Linked DNA regions of Homo sapiens: regions 2 and 3 are each linked to region 1. The links are contacts of gene promoters, found by promoter capture Hi-C in human tissues and cell types (Jung and others, 2019). All regions are on one chromosome and are shown on one strand. Each heading gives the region's core, a stretch centred on a gene start or on the middle of the fragment in contact. The rest is flanking DNA. Distances are from core to core; before and after follow the strand shown.

Evidence for each region. The method cuts DNA at HindIII sites, captures the fragments that hold promoters and counts their contacts. A contact is called where the count stands out against the background at its distance.
Region 2: a contact is called between a fragment that was not itself captured here and the fragment with the promoter of SLC1A1 in region 1, in 1 of the 25 tissues and cell types used here (dorsolateral prefrontal cortex).
Region 3: a contact is called between a fragment that was not itself captured here and the fragment with the promoter of SLC1A1 in region 1, in 1 of the 25 tissues and cell types used here (lymphoblastoid cells).

What each region holds. Positions count from the first base shown.
Region 1 is chr9:4,488,655-4,493,206 of GRCh38, forward strand. SLC1A1 (solute carrier family 1 member 1) reads left to right here and starts at 1,814. Exons shown (of 12, transcript NM_004170.6): 1 at 1,814-2,116. The coding sequence starts at 2,026. It also overlaps a transcript of GLIS3 not described here. RefSeq lists an enhancer at 1,412-1,461 and a silencer at 1,612-2,041. The HindIII fragment of the contact is 11,033 bases long and covers 1-4,552 here.
Region 2 is chr9:3,410,412-3,414,963 of GRCh38, forward strand. All of the region lies in intron 1 of RFX3 (regulatory factor X3), which reads right to left. Among named protein-coding and RNA genes, the nearest start is that of RFX3, 110 kb to the right of the region's middle. The HindIII fragment of the contact is 5,241 bases long and covers 1-4,552 here.
Region 3 is chr9:3,473,081-3,477,632 of GRCh38, forward strand. The region is part of intron 1 of RFX3 (regulatory factor X3); the gene reads right to left. Among named protein-coding and RNA genes, the nearest start is that of RFX3, 51 kb to the right of the region's middle. RefSeq lists an enhancer at 2,522-2,671. The HindIII fragment of the contact is 4,823 bases long and covers 1-4,552 here.

The DNA of each region.
Region 1 (4,552 bases), core at 564-3,063:
GATTACAGGTGCATGGCCCTAAACCCGGCTAATTTTTGTATTTTTGGTAGACGGGATTTCCCCATGTTGGCCAGGCTGGTCTCGAACTCTTGACCTCAAGTGATCCGCCTGCCTTGGCCTCCCAAATTGCTGGAATTACAGGTGTGAGCCATCGCGCCCGGGACTATTCTCCCTTTCTTGATAGTTTCCCTTCTGACATTTCCTTCCTTCTTTCTTTCTTTTTTCTTTTTTTTTGACAGTCTCGCTCTGTCGCCTAGGCTGGAGCGCAGTGGCTTGATCTCAGCTTACTGCAATCTCCACCTTCCAGGTTCAAGCGATTCTCCTCCCTCAGCCTCCCAAGTAGCTGCGACTACAGGCACGTGCCACCACGCCCGGCTAATTTTTTTGTATTTTTAGCAGAGACGGGGTTTCACTGTGTTAGCCAGGATGGTCTCAATCTCCTGACCTCGTGATCCGCTCGCCTCGGACTCCCAAAGTCCTGAGATTACAGGCAAGAGCCACCGCACCCGGGTCCCCTTCTGACATTTCTTCAGATCTTCCTCGGACACCCAACGACCTTAAAATCCCTCTAACCTTCTTTCTCTCAAAGTTTACTTTCTATAAAGAGCTGATAAACTCATTCATACTAAAGTCTACAGGGTTGTAAATCTTAATCTATTATCGCTTAAAAGATGCTTGTATCAATTTACACCAAAGGGATGAAGCTCTAATTGTGGGGATTTAGTCATCAGAAAATCTAGTAGGGGAAATTCTCCCTACCCACAATCAGAGTAGATTCTACAATAGCAAAAAGGGTTCCAGGCTCACTTAACTTTAGGAACGCTGATAAGAAGACCGCTTACAGCTGCGGAGGTACTGATTTGGTAAAGGGAGGGAAAGAGATTGTATACGTGAGAGTGAAAAAATTGGGTAGAAAAATGGAAGAGCATCAGAAATTCACTTAGCAACACCAAATATATTTGGCACCACTAACCTAGTTTCTCCTGTGTTTGCCTTTCCAATCCGTTGGACCTTAGGGGATGGACCGCCCACTTTCTCCCCAGAGCGGCTCCCGGGTCCGGTTCTCAGTTCTAATCACTGCCCCAAGCCTCCATGCTCCAGGGCCTGTGGTCACAGAGCAAGTCCCAAGGAGCAGAAGTAAAGTTCTAAGAGAAATCACCATCTCCTTGTGCAGGGAACACTCCCAAGCCCAGTGTCCACAGACAAATCACCTCCAGCGACTCGAAGAGGAGAATAATCCCTGTGGGGGCACTGGAGGCTCCGCGTGAAAGTTTCCAAAGCCATGTTCTGCCCCAGGACTCCTTTCTCTCCTCCCAGAAGCTTCAGGCTTTCGCGGCTGCTGGCACATCCCAGCCTGAGTAGCCGAGCAAGAGGGACCCAAGGCAGGATCAGCTTCCCCCGACTTGAAAGGGCACCCGTTCTGCAGGTGCCGGCGCTGGAAATAGCTGGTGTGGAGAACGGAGAGGGAGACGTGCAGGATGAAGTCCGCGCCCAGGAGGGCAGTGGCTCCGCCTCTCTGGGTTAGGGACAGAAGAAAACCCTTAACCCAAAGCCCTAGCATGAGTGAGGCGTGGAAAGCGAGACAGACTCCAGTGGAAGGCTGTGGGGCGGGACTCAGGGTTCCCGGAGAGGCCGCCCCAGCTCCTGCCGCAGCGCTGGGCGCCCTACCACGCCTGCTCCCTAGGGACCCCGGGCGTCCCACGCACGCACCCACCCTCCTTCCCGGGCCTGCCGCTCCTCCCTCCTTCCTCGCTGGTTGGCCCAGGCGCCGCAGAGCGCGGCGGCAGCAGGAGGAGCCGGGCGCGCCTGCCACGCAAAACTACCGGGCTGGCAGGGCGGCGGGCGCGGTGCGCGATCCCGGGTGGCGGCGGCAACGGCGGTGGTGACGGCGGCGACTGCAGCGGCCGGCTCTCACCTCTCCCCTGTGCACCCGCATCTCGCCGCGCCGCCGAGCAGCCAGCAGTCCCCGGGTCGCCCAGCCCACGCGCGCACGGCCGAGCCCAGCGCACAATAGCGGCGACAGCCATGGGGAAACCGGCGAGGAAAGGATGCGAGTGGAAGCGCTTCCTGAAGAATAACTGGGTGTTGCTGTCCACCGTGGCCGCGGTGGTGCTAGGTGAGCGGCGCGGCGGGTGGGCGATGCGCGCACCCTCACGCGCTCTCTGCGCCCAGGCCGCGTGCGGCTGAGGGTGGGCTTGGCGCTGGCGCACTCCATGCAGGGTCCCTCGATGCCCCCTCGGCCTTAGCCTCGGGCCCCCTGCGGGGGCTTTCCCCCAAGCGCTCTAATTACTGCACACCAAGAACAAAGCTCCTCTGGGACTCCCATTTGAGTGCTCCTTGAGCTGCTGGTTCCTGCTCTACCCAAAATGATCAAAGGGGCTTGGGGGTAGAAAGGGAAGCAAGTAGCTCTTGGTTCTGCTCGTTTGAAAACAGGGTTCGATTTTTTTCTTTGTTAATCCCGCACCGTATCTCCCCCTATCACCGCCACCTTCCTCACCCCACACCCCCAGCCTCGCTGCGCGGGCAGAGATTGAGTGTGGATTACAGTTCTCAGTCGAATTGGAAGAGGCACCCTGGCCTCCGGGATGGGCCGGACCCTTAGGGGAGGGAGGCTGAGAACGCTGTCGCCGCTCATCCTGGGCAGTGCGTGGAAAGGTGCCTTCCCACGCGGCGAGCGCCGACTGCCTGCACCCGGGCTCTGAAAAGCTGCCAGATTCGTGCCTGAATTCTGGGATGTGCCACTGTGGCCCGCGGGAGGTCACCGGGGAAGAGAGCTAAGAGAACTCAGCCGTCTCTTCTCCTGCCTTCCTTGCTCTCCACGTTGTTTTTGTATTTAAGATAATGTTTAAGCCATCCTTGCCTGTTTTTAAACAAGGGTGTATTTAAGTGATCCACCCCTCACAGATCACTGGACCAGGTGGATGTCTGAGCCATTGCTCAGAGGTATGAGTTATTCCTATTTAGATTCTGATTTTTTACCAAGGTTGTGTGTTTCTAGCTCCGGCCCGGGGATGCACTTCCTTGGGATTAGCGCCATATCTGTCGCCTTCCCAGTGATAGCTCCTCAGCAGGTGAGGGCTGTTGCACCCTCTGAGGAATGTGGATTCCTCGGCAGGCTCCACCTTCCCCTTGGAAACTGCAGCTGTGTTTGCTGAAAAGGCAAGTGGGGACAGCTTGTTTCCTCCCAACCTCAGGTACCTTCCTCTCCAACTGCTGCTCCTAAATCTCAGAATATATGGTGTTGCTTGCTTCTCCTCCGAACCGCCCCCTCCCCTCAGGGTGGGGATAGGGCATGGAAATGGCCTTTGGAAGTTAATGGGATTCTTGGGGTCAGATTGGATTCTCCAGAACCTTGGGGAAAGGAAAGTCAGGTTTCTAGTAAATAAATAACATCCTGGAATGGCCCTAGCAGAGGCTATTTGTAGGAGGAAAGGAGAGAAGTACAGAAGCAAATCTTGACTATTTCCCCCAAGAAGTGCCAAGTGGTTTTGGAACTTTTTTTTTTCGGTTTTGAACATTTTTAAGGGAAAGTTTATCCTACTCTACCATATTTAAATAGCATACGCTACAAAGAACGACTTGATTTCCTTTAGGCCAAAGAGAAGAGATGGCCTTGTTTGTTTTCCTAGTGATAAGAGTCGAGGATTAATTGTTAAATCTCTTTTTGAAGACTGAGAGATGCCAGGGCAAGGTGGCTCATGCCTATAACCCCAGTTACTCGGGAGGCTGAGGCAGGAGAATTGCTTGAACCCAGAAGGCAGAGGTTGAAGTCAGCCAAGATTGTGCCACTGCACTCCCGCCTGGGTGACAGAGCAAGAATCCACCAAAAAAAAAAAAAAAAAAAGGAAAAGGACTTTTAGAGGGCCAGGCACGGTGACTCACACCTATAATCCCAATATTTTGGGAGGCCAAGGAAGGAGGATTGCTTGAGCCCAGGAGTTGGAGACCAGCCTGGGCAACATGGCAAAATGCCATCTCTACAAAAAAGTACAAAAATTAGCGTGGTGGTGCACATCTGTAGTCCTAGCTACTCAGGAGACTGAGGTGGGAGGATCACCTGAGCCCAGGGAGGTCGAGGCTGCAGTGAGCCGTGATCGTGACTCTGCACTCCAGCCTGGGCAACAAGAATGAGACCTTGTCTAAAAAGAAAAAAAAAAAAGACTTTGCAGGATAAACATTGGCTTGAGTCTCCCTCCTGATTCCCTGTGGAAGTGGAGTTATCCTGCCTTTTCAGCATGGGGCTCTCCAGAGATACTCACTTGCTACCCAAGTGTTGCACACCACTCGTCAGCATGCGATTCACTGGAGACTGGTTTGGAGAAGGTTTTAAGCAATTGTTCCCTGGCCTTTGGAATCAGTTGCGTGAATAAGAAGAAGTACATGCTCATTTTGCAGACATGGCCTTTGGTCTCAGATGGGCACTTTCCTCCAATTTTAATGTCTGTGAGCCCCAAGAGCTTAGTTTGAGTACTTTTCTCCAGAAAGGAAAGTCACCACTTAAAAATCAAGTGCCCAGCTGAAATCTTCCTAGATATTTGTTCCTTCAGATGGC
Region 2 (4,552 bases), core at 1,215-3,714, 1.1 Mb before region 1:
TAATATACAAACTGACTCTATTTATACTGAAATAAATAAACCAAAAAGACTAATTTCTAGTTTTCCTGGAAGAGGGAAAAAGCAAAATTCAACACAACAGTAAATGCAACCAAAATAAACAGGGAACAAATTCTGAATTTTCACTTGCAGCAAATAAGTGTAATTTTGGGGTGTGAGATGGAAACCTTTTCAATGTAATGGTTTGTGTAACAGCTTTTACAAGGTGCACTTTTCACTGTCAAACAGCATGAAATGCTCGTAAGGGTAATCAGTTTTAGATGGCAGGTTTACAAGCTTTCCACAACATGTACTATTTATCTACGCTAAAATGTTTTCCAATTACCTCTTTACATATTATGTTCATGCATTCTTTTAAAAAGATTTAAAAACTGCTTTGTACAAATGTAACTCTGAAACCAACCACGCCGCTTGATTTCTTTAATCATCTGATGCATACTATTGGTTTTTACTAGCTCATAAGTTACCCATGCCTAATTTACATAAAAGCAGTATTTCTGTAATATATTAAAGCAAGGTAGAAGCAAACACCTCCCAGTATAACTGACTCAAAAATGGTATTTTCTATGTAATCTTGCTTATGAAGGAAATGATATTCTTGTTGTACCATAAGAGTTAGCTAATATTTACATATTATATTCAAAATTACACACAAATATGAGCTGATTACTTCTCATGATCCATGGAGCCACTTTTCTCACAAACCAAATTTATAAGGACGGTGTTTTCTAAATAAAACGGAAAGGTTATTTGCATATGAAAATTATATTCCCTTTCCTTATAAGGTTTACTCAACAATGAATACATAAATTCTTTTTCAATTAAGACAGCAATGGAATTTTTTTAAATGTAGGAGAGCAACCCAGTCCATCTTCCTCGCTCTGTGTCTTTCTTTCCCCCTTTCTCCCTTGCTCCTTTCTCTCCTCTTTTTTATTTATTTATTTATTTTTTGAGACAGGGTCTCATTCTGTTGCCAAGGCTGAAGTGCAGTGGCATGATCTCGGCTCACTGCAACCTCCACCTCCCAGGTTCAAGGAATTCTCCCAAGTAGCTGGGATTACAGGCACCCGCCACCAGACTGGCTAATTTTTGTATTTTTAGTAGAGACAGGGTTTCAGCCCGGGAAGCCTCCGCCTCCTGGGTTCAAGTGATCCTCCCACCCCAGCCTCCCGAGTAGCTGGGATTATAGGTGTGTGACACCACATCCAGCTAATTTTTGTGTGTGTGTGTTTTTTTTTTTTAGTAGAGAGGGGATTTCACCATGTTGGCCAGGCTGGTCTAGAACTCTGGACCTAAAGTGATCCTCCTGCCTCGGCCTCCCAAAGTGCTGGGATTACAGGTGTGAGCCACTGCGCAGGCCTCTTGTTCCCTTCTCTACCTTTCCTCCACCTCCAATTATACGGACCTAGTCAGCCCCATAGTCAAACACTGGCTACACAACAGCCCCTCCAAAATACTCTACATATATAAGCTGAGTCAGGAGTGCAGCTTAATTGTATCATTTTCTTCTTTGAAATTATTTTCACACATCTGGACAACTACTCGTAACATTATCCATAGGATCTTATATTCACACCATTTTAAACATTATGGGCATCAAAAATAACAGCTAAGCTATTTTCAGTACTTAGACGTAAGCCACATGGCCAAAATATTCAGTGTCTCAAAACAAAGCTTACTGTGAAATCAGATCAGTATCTGATTTGAGTATTCCTGGCTTGTACTTTCCAAAGTACAGTAGAACTACTTCATAATAAGACCACTAAAGGTCAACACTAATCATGTTGTATTACTTTACTTTATCTATGTTCAGAGAAATGTAAGCTCACAGACTCTAAGGTTGGACAGGCCATCAAGGTGACCTTGAGTCATGGTTAGTGCCATGATCTGTTTGAATATCCATAATGAAGCTCTACCACACCATTTTATAAGGAATGTTATGAATTATAGAATTGAGCTCTTAAGTTGACTCAAAGATAATGCTATTTTCGTTTCAAGTAAATAAATAGTAATTATCTATAGAGAAGTAAAAGAAAGGCTTCAAACCATTTAATAAAGATATATTAATTCATTTAGTTATTTTTTTCTTCTTGAGAGGGCTCTAAACAAAAATATCATCTTCCTAAGGTAAATATGTTAGTAAAAGTTTATAAAAGAAAGGTGCAAAGGGTGAAGCTGGCATTTCCTGAAGCTTAGGGTAGTTTCAGGAGATGCAACATGGTTGCAGTAAAAGCTATCACCTGGCTTAAAATAATAGGATTCTGTCCACTTTTTAAGCATACCAATTCTGTTACAGTTATTCTTAGAAAGAAAGGGAAACTTATAACTAGCTTTGAATGACCAGAAAAAAACTGCAAATTTCTTACTTTTAAAAATTATTGATGCTGGCAATTCTACTGGTAAATTCATGTTTCTTCCAAATTGAATATTAATAAAGCTACCACCAATGTTGAAAACCTGTTTATTATTTAATGTGAGCTGAATAAAAATCAATAACTATAGAGAACAGGGTTACTTCAGAAAATAAGATTCTAATATGTTTTATATTGAGTCTAAAAATCACACTTCTTTAATTGGTTAAAGCACAGCCTTTAATATAGAAAATTTTCTCAATTTAACAGGAAAAACCAAAAAACCTCTCTCCTTGAGAAATAAACAGAAATTTTTACAAAATTGTCATTTTATAGCAAGATCGATTTTTTTTTTTCAGTTACAACCTATTCTCCTAAGGATACTAGTCCCAGCTTTTAATCCAAATTTCCCAAATAGAAACATCAGCATCTTCCTAAGAAAATATTAAAATACTTGTTAAAGCATACTGTAATGTATACCAAGTAGAACTCTTTCAGTGCATTCAATTTACTTGATAAATTGTTTTATGAAATACTATAAGACTTAATAAACAATTCATAATTTAGGTAATTTATGTTCCTTCTCAAGGATATACAATCAAACTATTTTCATATGGGAGTTTAATATTTTAGGAACATCATACTATAGCTTATGATTTGTTTAAGTTGCTAAGAAGTGAACACTTTTATTTTATTTTTAAATGGCCCACCTTTAGTATTTAGATTATGCTCTTTTCATGTTTCAGTTTAACTTAACAAGACAATACAAAAACCTCAATAAAGAAAAATATCTAAAACTACTGCAGATCCTAGACACAGTTTCTTTAAAGAATTCATCCCTGTTTCTTTCTCCTTGCTCTGAAGACAAGGAACAAATGCTTCCTGAATGTGAAATTCACCCTAACAGTTCATTGCTTTAACACCTTTTGAGTAGAGACAGTTGGAGCAAATATAAGCTAAGTTCTGCAGTGTAGCAGTTCTCTTGACAACTCTTAGTAAGGCTGCAAGTGAAAAACCCTTTATGCTTTTTTGAATAATATCCCAGTGTGGGAGGATGAATACTAAGTAATAAATCAGGAAAAGAAAAAAATTATACTCTCCACCTAGATAACATGAAGAATGGTAAGGCTAGTGTTTGGTACTTAGAAATTCTCCCAATAAATCAAGATTGTCTTCTTTCATCTTTACCTCCTCTGTTACATCCAATTAAAAATTTTAAAAGCTGCTATTTATTGAACACCTACCACATATCTGCTAATAAACTTAATACTTTAATTTTCACAACAACCTTGTGTGAAAATTATGTGTGTGTTGGTTGAGTACTTTATTGAAATGGGACACTGAGTTCCAGAAAGATCAAATACTTTTCCTAAGAGCTCAACATTGGCAAAAGACAAAACTAGGACACACATGGAACTACATCTGACTGTAAAGGCTATGCTCCTGCCATATTCCAGTCTGCTTACAATACTTTTAATGTTTTCTGTATTTCCAAGTTAAAAGAAACAAAATTTGTGTTCCATATTTGAAATATTCAACAGTTATGAGAATGTCAATCTTAAGAGTAAAGTCATTATCTTGCAAAATCAGTGAGAAATTAAAAACACAATAGAGTTAGCTTTCATTATTCATACTAGTTGAAAGATCCAAAGACATATTTGCTGTCCTACCAAAAGGGCACACTGCAGTAAATACCACTAACATATATATATGTGTATATACATATATAAGAGTATATATATATGTGTGTGTGTGTATATATATGAGTGTGTATATATATATGCTAGTGGTATCTACTGCAATGTGGTATATATATATATGCTAGTAGTATCTACTGCAATATACGAGTGTATATATATATGAGTATATATATGTATATATGAGTATATATGTATATATGAGTATATATGTATATATGAGTATATATGAGTATATATGTATATATGAGTATATATGTATATATGAGTATATATGAGTATATATGTATATATGAGTATATATGTATATATGAGTATATATGAGTATATATGTATATATGAGTATATATGTATATATGAGTATATATAAGTATATATGAGTATATATGTATATATATGAGTATATATAAGTATATATATGAGTATATATACACACATATATACTCATATGTGTGTATATATATACACATATATGTGTGTGTATAT
Region 3 (4,552 bases), core at 983-3,482, 1.0 Mb before region 1:
CATGCCAGAGTCTGGATCGACTTATATATCCCTTAAGAATCTCAATGGTAGGCAAACACTTCACCTGTGGAATTATCTCCACACATAATTGGATTTCCCAAATCAAAGTAGGCACTATAAGCCAGGGCAAAAGCTGCAGTCTTAGGCTAGAGAAGAAGATTTCCATCTGTTTTCTACTTCAAGTATTAGCTGCTACAGAGTTTCCCCTTTGGTGTCATAATAACAGGCACATATTTTTCATATGAACTACTGGGTTCTCTTATTTCTCCACAATACTGAACTGAGAGATCTGAAAATCACTAAAAACATATTTCTAACTCTGGGGTCTAGCCAAGAAGACTACCTACAGACTAACAAAAGTCTAAAACATGCGTACTGAATTAGGGGTTATAAAGATAAATGGATCCAAGAAATATATAAGCCTACATAGAATAATACACATGAGAAGCTCTCTTGATCAAGCTTCACTTACCCAGCTTGCTATGTAAACCCACATTGTTCATTTCCTCTTTAACCATACTGACAGATGCCCACAGAATACTGAAAACTCACAGCCTGCAGGAGTCTCTCTAGCATGCCCCTCAACACTTCTGCTCCCAACTGCTGAGCTGTATATTCACTCAGAACAATATTTGTTCCAAAACCTCAACAGGGGAGTTTTATTGTTATTGTAATTAGCTAATTTAATTAAATATCACATAAACCATAAAAGCAAAAATAAAAGGTCTTGTATCTTTAAAAACTAAGTCAAACGCATTGAAAAGACTTGATAAAGGCAAGTCACTGCAAAATACTGCTGTTGAAATAGGCAAAGATAAGAGAAATATTTTTAAACCTGGGAAAAATAATAAAATATAGAATATAATGTTTCTGAAAATGTAGCATGGAAGCCAAGCATAGAATACTGAGCCCCACCTTCCATAGTTTCTGATTCAGTAGGTCTGGAGTAAAACCAAAGAATTTGCATGCTATGAAATTCCCATGATGCTGAGGCTGCTGGGCTGGGAACCACACTTTGAGAACCACTGCTCTGCAAGTGTCTCAATTTTTTAATCTATATTAAAGAAATAAAGCATAAACTGGATATGACTTGTTATAGATGTAGATTTATATAAGACTTGCAGTTCCAATCAGCAAGCCTATATTGAAAAAAAGGCCCTTGGTCCTAGTCACAAAAACAGTCTATTTATACATTTTGCACATTTCAAGTTAAAATGTTAGTGAGAAGTATGCAGCACTTTTTATGACCTACTGTTTTAACTTTTTCTATTAACAGTCAAACTACAAGAACCAATCTCATCAGAAAAGATCCCTTGTCAAATACAGACTATGAAAGTACCACTGAAGTTTCAAAGTTCCTTTACCTACACCATTTGCAAGAAGGAAATTCCGTGATTGTCTCATTGGTTATAAGACTTCCCCGAAACACAAACTCATAGAAGCTCATAATATCAATGACGCTTTTAAAATTAAAGTTAAAAGGTTTAGTATCACTGTCTCCAATTTATAGATGAGATTACTGACTCAGAAGAAACATATCTAAAAGTAAGTCAGCCAACAAGTGGCAGCCAAGACTCTGAATACAGATTTGTCTCCAGAAACAGTGCTTATTTGCCCAAACCACAAAATATTGCAGTATAATCTTTAAAAGAATCAAAGACAGGTTTGCAACAATACACCATTAGAACCCTAATCAATCTAAATGTCTGTGAAACAGAAAATGACCAAACTAGCAGCCAGGTATGGTGGCTCATGCCTGTAATCTCCGCACTTTGGGAGGCCAAGGAAGGAGAATCACTTGAGGCAACCAAGAGTTGAAGACCAGCCTGGGCAACACAGGAAGATCCCATCTCCACAAAAAGTAAAAAATTAGCTGGGTGTGGTGACACATGCCTATAGTCCTAGCTACTCGGGAGGCTGAGGCAGGAAGATTGCTTGAGCCCAGGTGATCTAGGCTGCAGTGAGCTATAATTGTGCCACTGCACTAACAGCCTGGGCAACAGAGCAAGACCCTGTCTCCAAAAAAAAAAAAAGAAAGAAAAAGAAAAAGGAAGGAAGGAAGGAAGGTAGGTTGCCAACTATAAACAGTTATAAATGGATGCTTATAAGCATTATATCTTCATCTTGAACACTGTAGGGTCCAGCCCCACAGGGTCAGTGGGTTTTTCTCCCCGTGTGCAGAGACGAGAGATTGTAGAAATAAAGACACAAGACAAAGAGATAAAAGAAAAGACAGCTGGGCCCGGGGGACCGCAACCACCAAGACGCAGAGACCGGTAGTGGCCCCGAATGCCAGGCTGTGCTGTTATTTATTGGAAACAAGGCAAAAGGGGAAGGGTAAGGAGTGTGAGTCATCTCCAATGATTGACAAGGTCACATGAGTCACATGTCCACTAGACAGGGGGCCCTTCCCTGCCTGGCAGCCAAGGCAGACAGAGAGAGAGGGAGAGAGAGAGGACAGCTTATGCTACTATTTCTGCATATCGCATATACAGCGTATGCAATAGCATACGCTATTATTTCTGCATAATATTACAATATTGTTTCTGCATATCAGAGACTTTTAGTACTTTCACTAATTTTGCTACTGCTGCCTAAAAGGCAGAGCCAGGTGTACAGGATGGAACATGAAAGTGGACTAGGAGGGTGACCACTGAAGCACAGCATCACAGGGAGACAGTCAGGCCTCCAGATAACTGTGGGCAGGCTTGACTGATGTCAGGCCCTCCACAAGAGGTGGAGTAGAGTGTCTTCTCTAAACTCCCCTGGGGAAAGGGAGACTCCCCTTCCCAGTCTGCTAAGTAGTAGGTGTTTTCCCTTCGCACTGACGCTACCACTAGACCACAGTCTGCTTGGCAACAGGCATCTTCCCAGACGCTGGCGTTACCGCTAGACCAAGGAGCTCTCTGGTGGCCCTGTCCAGGCATGACAGACGGCTCACACTCTTGTCTTCTGGTCACTTCTCACTATGTCCCCTCAGCTCCTATCTCTGTATGGCCTAGTTTTTCCTAGGTTATGATTATAGAGCGAGTATTATTATAATATTGGCATAAAGAGTAATTGCTACAAATGATTAATGATACTCATATATAATATATATAATATATACATATAATTCATATGATATTCATATATAATCATGTCTATGTAGATCTAGTATAACTCTTGTTGTTTTATGTTCTTTATTACACTGGAACAACTCGTGCCCCTGGTCTCTTGCCTCGGCATCTGGATGGCTTGCTGCCCACAGAATATAATCATAAACATCATCTATAAGCTGAACTTATTAAGTGCCAAGAGAGGATCATCAAATATAGGGCACTGGAAGGTAGCTAGTTTATCAGCATTGATGCAAAGTTTAGTATTTATGGACTGCTTGAAAACAGGGGAAGAGATGAAGTAGCTCAGTGACAGCAATCACCATTAAGATGATGCCATTAAACCAAGTCAATTTTAGAAACTAGAGGCACAGACAAACAGCACCTTATCTCTGCCTTATAAGGTAGTGATGCATTCATGTTGTATTATAAATTCCAGAAGAGAACCATATCTGTAAAACTATGAAGGAATCCATCTTTTATGTATCATAAGCCCATCAATACAACTTTATAAGAATTGCTTTATTCAGTTGTGTTTTAAATAACTGGAGAAAAAAATGTTACAAACAAAAACGCATTTATTGGAATTGACAGGAAGAGGGAAGTTTTTGAAAGAAGGCCAAGAATATTAAAGCACCGGATATTAAGGTGTAAAGCAGTATTTAAAAGCTTGGGCTTTAGTGTTAAACAGACCACAGCTCAAATCCTAGCTCCACCACTTACTACTTAAATGACCTTGGGCAAGTCACTTTCTTTCTTAATTCAATTTTCCCCATCTATAAAATCTAGATAACACACCCTAGTGAGATATTGTAATGAGAAAATGATGTAATACATATATGTCACTAGCTCATAGTTATCATTCAAAATTTATGTAATAATTATTTTCAGTATAATTTTTGTTCTAATTTTTGTTTTACCTGAAACCAAAATTTTCATTACTTTTATAAACACTTCTCCAGACAGCAAAGTATAATTCCAATACAGAATCACAATTTATACTATACAAAAGACATGGATTTAGAGCCTATCCCTAACAAAAACTTCAATCTATTATTCAATCTATTTGTACATGTCTTTCATAATGCCTGTAGTTACCTTTAACCATTCCTCTTTATTTCTTCACACGGATTAAAATTTACCATTAAGTGTCCTTTCATTTCAACCTGAAAGACTCCCTTTAACATTTCTTAGAGTTCGTGAGAATCCTTTCAGTTTTTATCTATTTGGAAACGTCTTAATTTCACTTTCAGTTTTGAAGAAAAGTTTAGCTAAATAGAGAATTACTGGTTGACAGTCTTTTACTTTCAATGTTGAAAATGTCTTCTAGCCTCCAGGGTTTCTCGTAAGTCAGCTATTAAGCCTATTGAGGATTCCTTGTAACAAGTCATTTTTCTCCTGCTACTTTCAAGATTTTTCTTTAAATTCAACTATGATGGGTCTAGGTATGGATC